Linked DNA regions of Homo sapiens: region 2 is linked to region 1. The links are contacts of gene promoters, found by promoter capture Hi-C in human tissues and cell types (Jung and others, 2019). All regions are on one chromosome and are shown on one strand. Each heading gives the region's core, a stretch centred on a gene start or on the middle of the fragment in contact. The rest is flanking DNA. Distances are from core to core; before and after follow the strand shown. Region 1 holds the start of CADM2 (cell adhesion molecule 2). Region 2 overlaps CADM2 (cell adhesion molecule 2).

The links. Contacts are between HindIII fragments. The study calls those that stand out against the background at their distance.
Region 2: a fragment that was not itself captured here is called in contact with the fragment with the promoter of CADM2 in region 1 in 1 of the 25 tissues and cell types used here (dorsolateral prefrontal cortex).

The regions. Positions count from the first base shown.
Region 1 is chr3:84,957,130-84,960,582 of GRCh38, forward strand. CADM2 (cell adhesion molecule 2) reads left to right here and starts at 1,860. Exons shown (of 10, transcript NM_001167675.2): 1 at 1,860-2,539. The coding sequence starts at 2,479. The HindIII fragment of the contact is 15,126 bases long and covers 1-3,453 here.
Region 2 is chr3:84,992,693-84,996,145 of GRCh38, forward strand. All of the region lies in intron 1 of CADM2 (cell adhesion molecule 2), which reads left to right. Among named protein-coding and RNA genes, the nearest start is that of CADM2, 35 kb to the left of the region's middle. The HindIII fragment of the contact is 3,667 bases long and covers 1-3,372 here.

The DNA of each region.
Region 1 (3,453 bases), core at 610-3,109:
CAATGTAGCTTTATAAGTAATTAAGTCCAGCTCCTTCATATTATAGTTGAGGCCACTGAGGGTCAAGGAAGTTGAATATATGCCCAAGGTCATACAGCTAGAAGCAGCATGTGCATTAGAACCCAGAAACTCCGACTACCATTTCAATAAACAAATCCTAACTTCTTTGGCATTTCCATTTGTTATATTCTCCCTGACACAAAACCTAAGCGTGAGTCAATAATGATTAGAATTTCACCTTTTGATCCTCACAATAGGTTAAATGATAGCAGTATCTGTGGACTCACTGACTGACTTTCCTAACAGCTAAAACTCACAGTAGGCAACTATCTCCTACAATAACACAGGTATTCACACATCTTTCTTCAAGAATGTGCTTGCAGTTTTATTATGGACATTTTGTTCCTTAATTTTGAGAACCTGGGGAGAAAGGTGGGCAGAGAAATGAATGGGTCATTAGTTAAAAGGCAAGGGTTGAATTTGCAAAAGGTTGTGGCAAAGTAAGCAACAAATGGGAAAGAGTGAAGGGCATCAATATTGATCTTGCCTCTCATCTTTCCCTCTGTCTTCTTGCTTGCAGGTTTCTATTGTGTAGTCTCTCAAACAAAGCCGACTTTATTTATGGTGTGACTGATTTAACACTACTGAACCAGTCCATCATCTGCCAATTTGGTCCAATTAAAAACTGGTCATAGGGAAAACCTGGGAATTAAGCTCATTTAGAAACACAACTTCTGATTCATTTATGTCTTGCTCATTTATGTCTCCTCTTCTAAAGGACACATTTCAGGGTGTTGATTTATAGAGGTGGCTCTTTCCAGCTTCCTGAGTTTCTGTGACTCCTTTTGGTTAGGTCCATTAAAAAAGTGCACTTCTGCCTCTCTCCCCTCGTAAGGCTATTGTTAAAACATTTTAAAGAGGCTTGCCTAAGATTTCCTGCTATCCAGAATTAGAAAAATCCCAATAAACAGCTAGAGTCACCATTTTTAAAGTATGTACGCATTGCATGGACTTACGCTAACATGATTGCTTTCTCACTTAATCCTTACAACTCTTTAAGTACTATTATCCTGGTTTTGCAGTTGAGGAGGCTTTAGACTTAAACGTTCAAGTAAATCATCAAATATTATAAAACATGAAGCGACAGCTATGCTATTTGAACCAAAGGCTGCCTGATGCCAGTGCCAGCACTGCTACTCACCAAGCTCTACTGAGATTTATACCTAGACTAAGTAAAACCTCTGAACAACAACAACAACAAAATTATTTCCTCCACTTGTTTTTCCTTTTTTGCACAAGTTCTTGTAGGCAGGTAGGTGTTCCACTCCCTATACTTAGCCTCTCCCACGCCCTCTGCAATCTTTCCCTTTTGCTGCTGGAATCGTCAGAGATTGCTACTGCAGCTGGTGAGTGGGCAGGTGCAGCCACCATCTGCTCTAGGAGTCCAAATGCGCAGAAGAACCTCGCACCCAGGACCTGGCCCAGGCACCACGAATTCCAGAACATGCTGGGGACACGGCTAACCCCGCCCCCTCGCGGTGGCGATTGGCTGAACCCTTCCTGAGTGCAAAGCGCTGATTAATGAAGGCAGTTGTCTCGCCTGCAAGTTCGGGCGAGACATCTCTAAAGAGGTAAGATCCGCCAGGGGTGCTGAATGGGGGCTTCAGTTCTTCCTGCCCGAAGGGTCCTTGAGAAGCCTGTTTGTTTTTCCCGGCGCTTGTCTCCACCCATCCCCTTCTCTCATTGGCCAGACCTGGTGGGCGGGGGAGTTTCCATTGGCCGGGGGGCGGTGTCTGTCCCTGGCCGGGGTGGGGGCGGGGCCTCCGCCGCTCTGAGCTTGCCCTTGTGTCTGGTGCTTCGTAGAGCTGCCGCCGTCGCCGCTGCCGCTGCCGCCACAGCCGCCGCTGCAGCCGGAGCATCCGGGAGCCGCCACTGCCGCCGCCGCTGCCGCTGCTACCGCCACTAGCGCTGCTTCCACTGCTTCTACCTCCCCTCCCAGGACCCCGAGACACCCCGGGCGCGAGCGGCAGTGCTGCTTGCTTGCTCCTCCTCTCCCCCAGCCCTTCCCCTCCGTGACCTACCCACTCCTTGCAGCCCTCGCCCGCACCTTCTCCAACACCCCGGCATCCCTGCACCACCTGCTCGGGCAGCCCCGGCGGGCTCTGGGACTTGCTGTGCGCGCCGAGAGGAAGGCAAGCTCCAAACCCCTGCCTGGAAGACGGGCTGTCGCGGCTGCACCACCAGCAGGAGGAGGAGGAGAAGAAACTATTTCGCGATACCCCATTCTGCGGGTGCTTTGCCGCTGCCGCTTCTGCTGCCGCCGATCCGAGTCCGCGGGTTCGAACACCGCAGCGGTGGGGACGGTGGGTCCGGCGGGCGCCGGGAGGAGGACACCAGCGGAGCCCTGCACTCTCGTGCCCCGCTCACCAGCATCTACTTGCCCCCTCGTTCCTTCCCCAGCCCTTTAGAGAAGGGACCATGATTTGGAAACGCAGCGCCGTTCTCCGCTTCTACAGTGTCTGCGGGCTCCTGCTACAAGGTAATCCCCGCCCCGGCGCAGGGAACATCAACTTCTCGCCCATTCCCCATCTTCCCCATTCCACCCCATATTTCCACTCTCCCCTCCCAGTCTCCCTGTCCCCAGCGATTTCCACCCCCTCCCCCTACTCTCTGGTGCGGCAGGGGGCAGTGGCAGTTTGCACCAGCCCCTCGAATTTCTAACACTGGCTCAGCCCTGCCTTCCCAGCAGTCAGCCCCTTACGCGGCACCTTTTGCCTTCTCATTCACCTGAGCTTCCTTCATCTCACTCCATTCCCGCCAGCATCCCCCTCCCACGCCTTTTGGCTGGCAACTTGTGCCTCTCTGAACATTCCACCCTCCCGACAACCCCCACCAGCCACCTCCCACATCACGCTCTTGAGCGACCCTCTCCATCTCTTGTCATCTCTTTAACCTCCCCCTTTTCAGGTCGCCTTTTCTTTTCCCCCTCTTCCCACCATCATCATATCCGTGTGTCTTTAAAAAGTGTGTGAGAGCCTGGGAGCGAGCTACCAAGACGGGCGAGAACAGCAGCAGCGACAGCACCGTGTGCATTGCAATAACATCCCCGGGGGGGAAATGTGTTCTGAGACGTGTCATTTACCTAGGAAGAGAGAGGGGACTCTGTCTGGGATTTAAAAAAAAAGAAAAGAAAAGAAAAAGAAAGGAAAAAGAATAAGAAAAAAGAAAAAATGAGTGAATGAATGAATAAATAAACCAAGAATTTAAGAAAGGGGAGAAAAGGCAAAAAAATTAAAAGACCCAAACCCACTTTATCAACACATTGACTTTTTATTATTCAGTCTGTGTCGTTTCTTTTTTTTTTTAACCAAAGAAATATATGCTCCCTAGCAGTTACTTTACTGCTAAGATATTTTCACTTAGATTTCCTACCTCTCCATCCTCTCTCTGCCG
Region 2 (3,453 bases), core at 289-2,788, 35 kb after region 1:
TTGGGACTCTTAGTACCTCAAATCGTATTATAAAGAGTGCTACTAACTAGTAAGAGCATCTTTATTATCAGACCTGCAATTCAATACAGTTTCCACTAATATCTCAAAAGTGACAAACAAAACAACAAAACAAAACCCAAAACTTGCTACGTCATGATAACAGGGAGAATATGAGAATTTGTGCAAGAGATGGAGGTAGAGACGAGCAGCCTTTTCAAGTAGTAGATTTCATGTCCCTGTAATTTAAGTTGATTCCCATGTTTAGATTGGATGTTGAAGGTTGTCAACCCAGGATGTATGGTTTAATAATCTCAGTGACTCCAATAATTTTAATTCTCTTACTACTCACTTACAAGTGGCAGATACCTAAAACAAACTATTTTAAGAAAAAAAAATATGTACTAGAACATAGAACTAAGGAGTCCTTTCATTACCCAGGCTGATTTAATATTTTACCACTATTCTTGGGGGTGGGCTTGTTTATCGGGCCCAAGTGGGAACCCAGAGAGTTAAGGAGGCAATTCCTAAAACGAAAAGAAGTGTGTTAGCAAAAGGAGGATAGGAGTGTGCATAGCTACTATAGCCCATTACAGTGACAAAAGGGATTTAGCGTATTAACTGGAATATTTTGATGCCCATTGCTAGTGAAACTACCTTAATGACTAAAGCAATACTCTCTCTGTTACCATATGGAGTAGTTTCTTGACAAGGAAAAAGGAACACTGAGGGAAAAGAGATAGTACATACTGTGGGAGAGGAAGTGGTAGTAACAGTTAAAATCAAGTTACTTCTGGTCCTAGTTGACCCTGTAATCGTCAACTTTAAAGAGTAAATCTTGAGCAACACTCTGGTGGTAAGTGGTGCACCATCAGGAAAGGATTAGCAGAAAGTCAAAAGGGTTTGTTTTTTCCACGGAAAACACCCTGACTATAGCTTCCTAGAGTTAAAATTTGAAAGCCATTAGCAGAAACACACTGACTGATATGAACTGTTGTATTTCTTCATAGACATGTTCTAAAAGGAGTTAGCATGCTTTGTTTCGCTCATTCCATGCTCAGTAGCCTTAGGGTGCAGAACAGAGAATGCACTATGACCTTTTTTCCTACTATTGTCTCTAAATGGATCTCAGCGTGACAATAAATACTAATGTTGTAATAGGAATTGAAACACAACAGTAACAAAATTAAGGTTAAAATTCTTTTTCTTCTGTTAAAATTCTATTTCATTAGTGATACACCCCCAAAATAGTACCTATTTTTTGAAATTGTTATACTTGTTCAAAAGCTTGCAAATTAGTGTAAGCTCAGGACCTGCCGAACATCCTTTCAGCATTATGAGATTCCAGAAAATGTGAATAGGATGTTTCAGTTGTTAGGTAATTTCCAGATGCCTTTTTTTTGTGCTCAGATAATTCAAATGGCTTCTTTTCAATACTTCAGGCTTGTCATGTACACTATATTAGAGTGTGTAACATTTTTGAAGGAATTTGGCACAGGCATCGCTTTTCCACTTCTGACTCTCTAAGTTTGAAGAGTGCCTGCCAAGATCGTTATAAATACATCCTAATAAATATATTTTCACCAATTTTTGAAGTTCCCTTTTACTTCAAGTGTCAATATTGTATGTGTTACGATAAGAGTAGTTTAATTAGCTATGGTTTTTACTGATATTTTGAATAAATACACTTAGGCTATATTTATAGCAAACCTCAATATTTGCAAATCATACAGACAGCATGATTTATATGTGATCATTAAGATACACACTTAGCTTAATTTCAGTCACTATTTCTGTGTCCTTAGGTAAGTAGGAAGGTAGGTAAAATTTCCTCAAAATTATAGACACAAAATTTAGAGTGTTTCTTTGTCTTCTTTATTGCTTTTTTGGCTTAGTTGAGTCATAATTTACATTACTGTCATTTCCTGTTTTCTTACCTTAACATTACTATAACAAGAAAATGTGTAGAGTATGACTTAATAAACTGCTTTAAAAAGTTTATTATATTTTTGGATATACATAAAATTTTTAAACAATTTTAGAATATACAAGTGTTCGGCTGGGCGTGGTGCCTCATGCCTATAATCCCAGCACTTTAGGAGGCCCAGGTGGCCAGATCACGATGTCAGGAGTTCGAGAGCAGCCTGGCAAACACAGTGAAACCGTGTCTCTACTAAAAATACAAAAAATAAGCCGGGCGTGGTGGTGTGCACCTGTAACCCAGCTACTTGGGAGGCTGAGGCAGGAGAATCATGTGAACCCGGAAGGCAGCGGAGGTTTCAGTCAGCCGAAATTGAACCGTTGCACTCCAGCCTGGGCGACAGTGTGAGACTCTGTCTCAAAAAATAAATAAATAAATAAAAGAATATGTAAGTGTTCATCCATTCAAACATTTATTTCCTCATTATTTTTATAAAATCTTTCTAAATGAAGAGTGCAAATAACTCCCAAAAACTAATTTTTGCTAAAACATTTGAGGCAGCATGGTATAAGGGTTAGTCACATTCCAAAACAGTGTTATGTTATAGCGGACCTGCCATAATTTCATGCTAATATAATTCAAAACTGATTCTAATGGAGGATGGCAGGTACATTTGTTAACCTGATAAAGCAGAAATGGAAAGCAAACCTCGTTTGCAACTAACTCAGTCCACCAATATTGAGCTTATGTTATTCTTGCCAAATTTAATAATTTCTGGGATTAATACAATTTTAAAATGTGTGCATTAAGAGAGAATTTTCCCTAATGAAGATTTGCATAACTCATTTCGCAACCACACTATAACGGAAAGAAGCTTTAATTTGGATTTGATAACAGTTGGGTTGGAATCCTAGCGATGTGTAAATTTAGAGAAGTTGCTTAGTATTTCCAAGACTCAGCTTTTTCATCTAAAAGAGGAGAGAATAATACATACTTCAGACAATTTCTGGAGATTATATGTAGTGCCTAAGTACTTGCCTACAAAAGAGATTACTAAGTACTTGCCTACAAAAGAGATTACTTGCCTACAAAAGAGATTAATATTATTCTATTTATTTCCATGATTGCTAACAGTATTTGATCATTCCTCTAGCTTATTGTTTCCACAACTGGCTTTTTAGCTTGTTGTTTCCACAACTGGCTTTTTAGCTTGTTGTTGAAATTTACTTCTTCTGTAGTGGTTGGTCAAAGATGGCTGAAATGCCTGATGGGATTTCTGATATTTTTGTATTTGTCCTTGTACTAAGTGATGAGTTTTCCATGCCTATTGGTTCACAAATGGGGAATCCAGCAAACTGATAAAACTTCAGTGACAGGAGAGACTATAACTTATTTTCTCAGTTAATTATGAGAAATTTGGACAGACAAATGTACAAGATCTTTCAAGCAAAATCTGGCAATTTTACTCTCCCAACCCTGTTTGCTGCTGGGATTGTTTAGTTCATGAGTCCAGGGTTTCAGATGAATTGTGGACT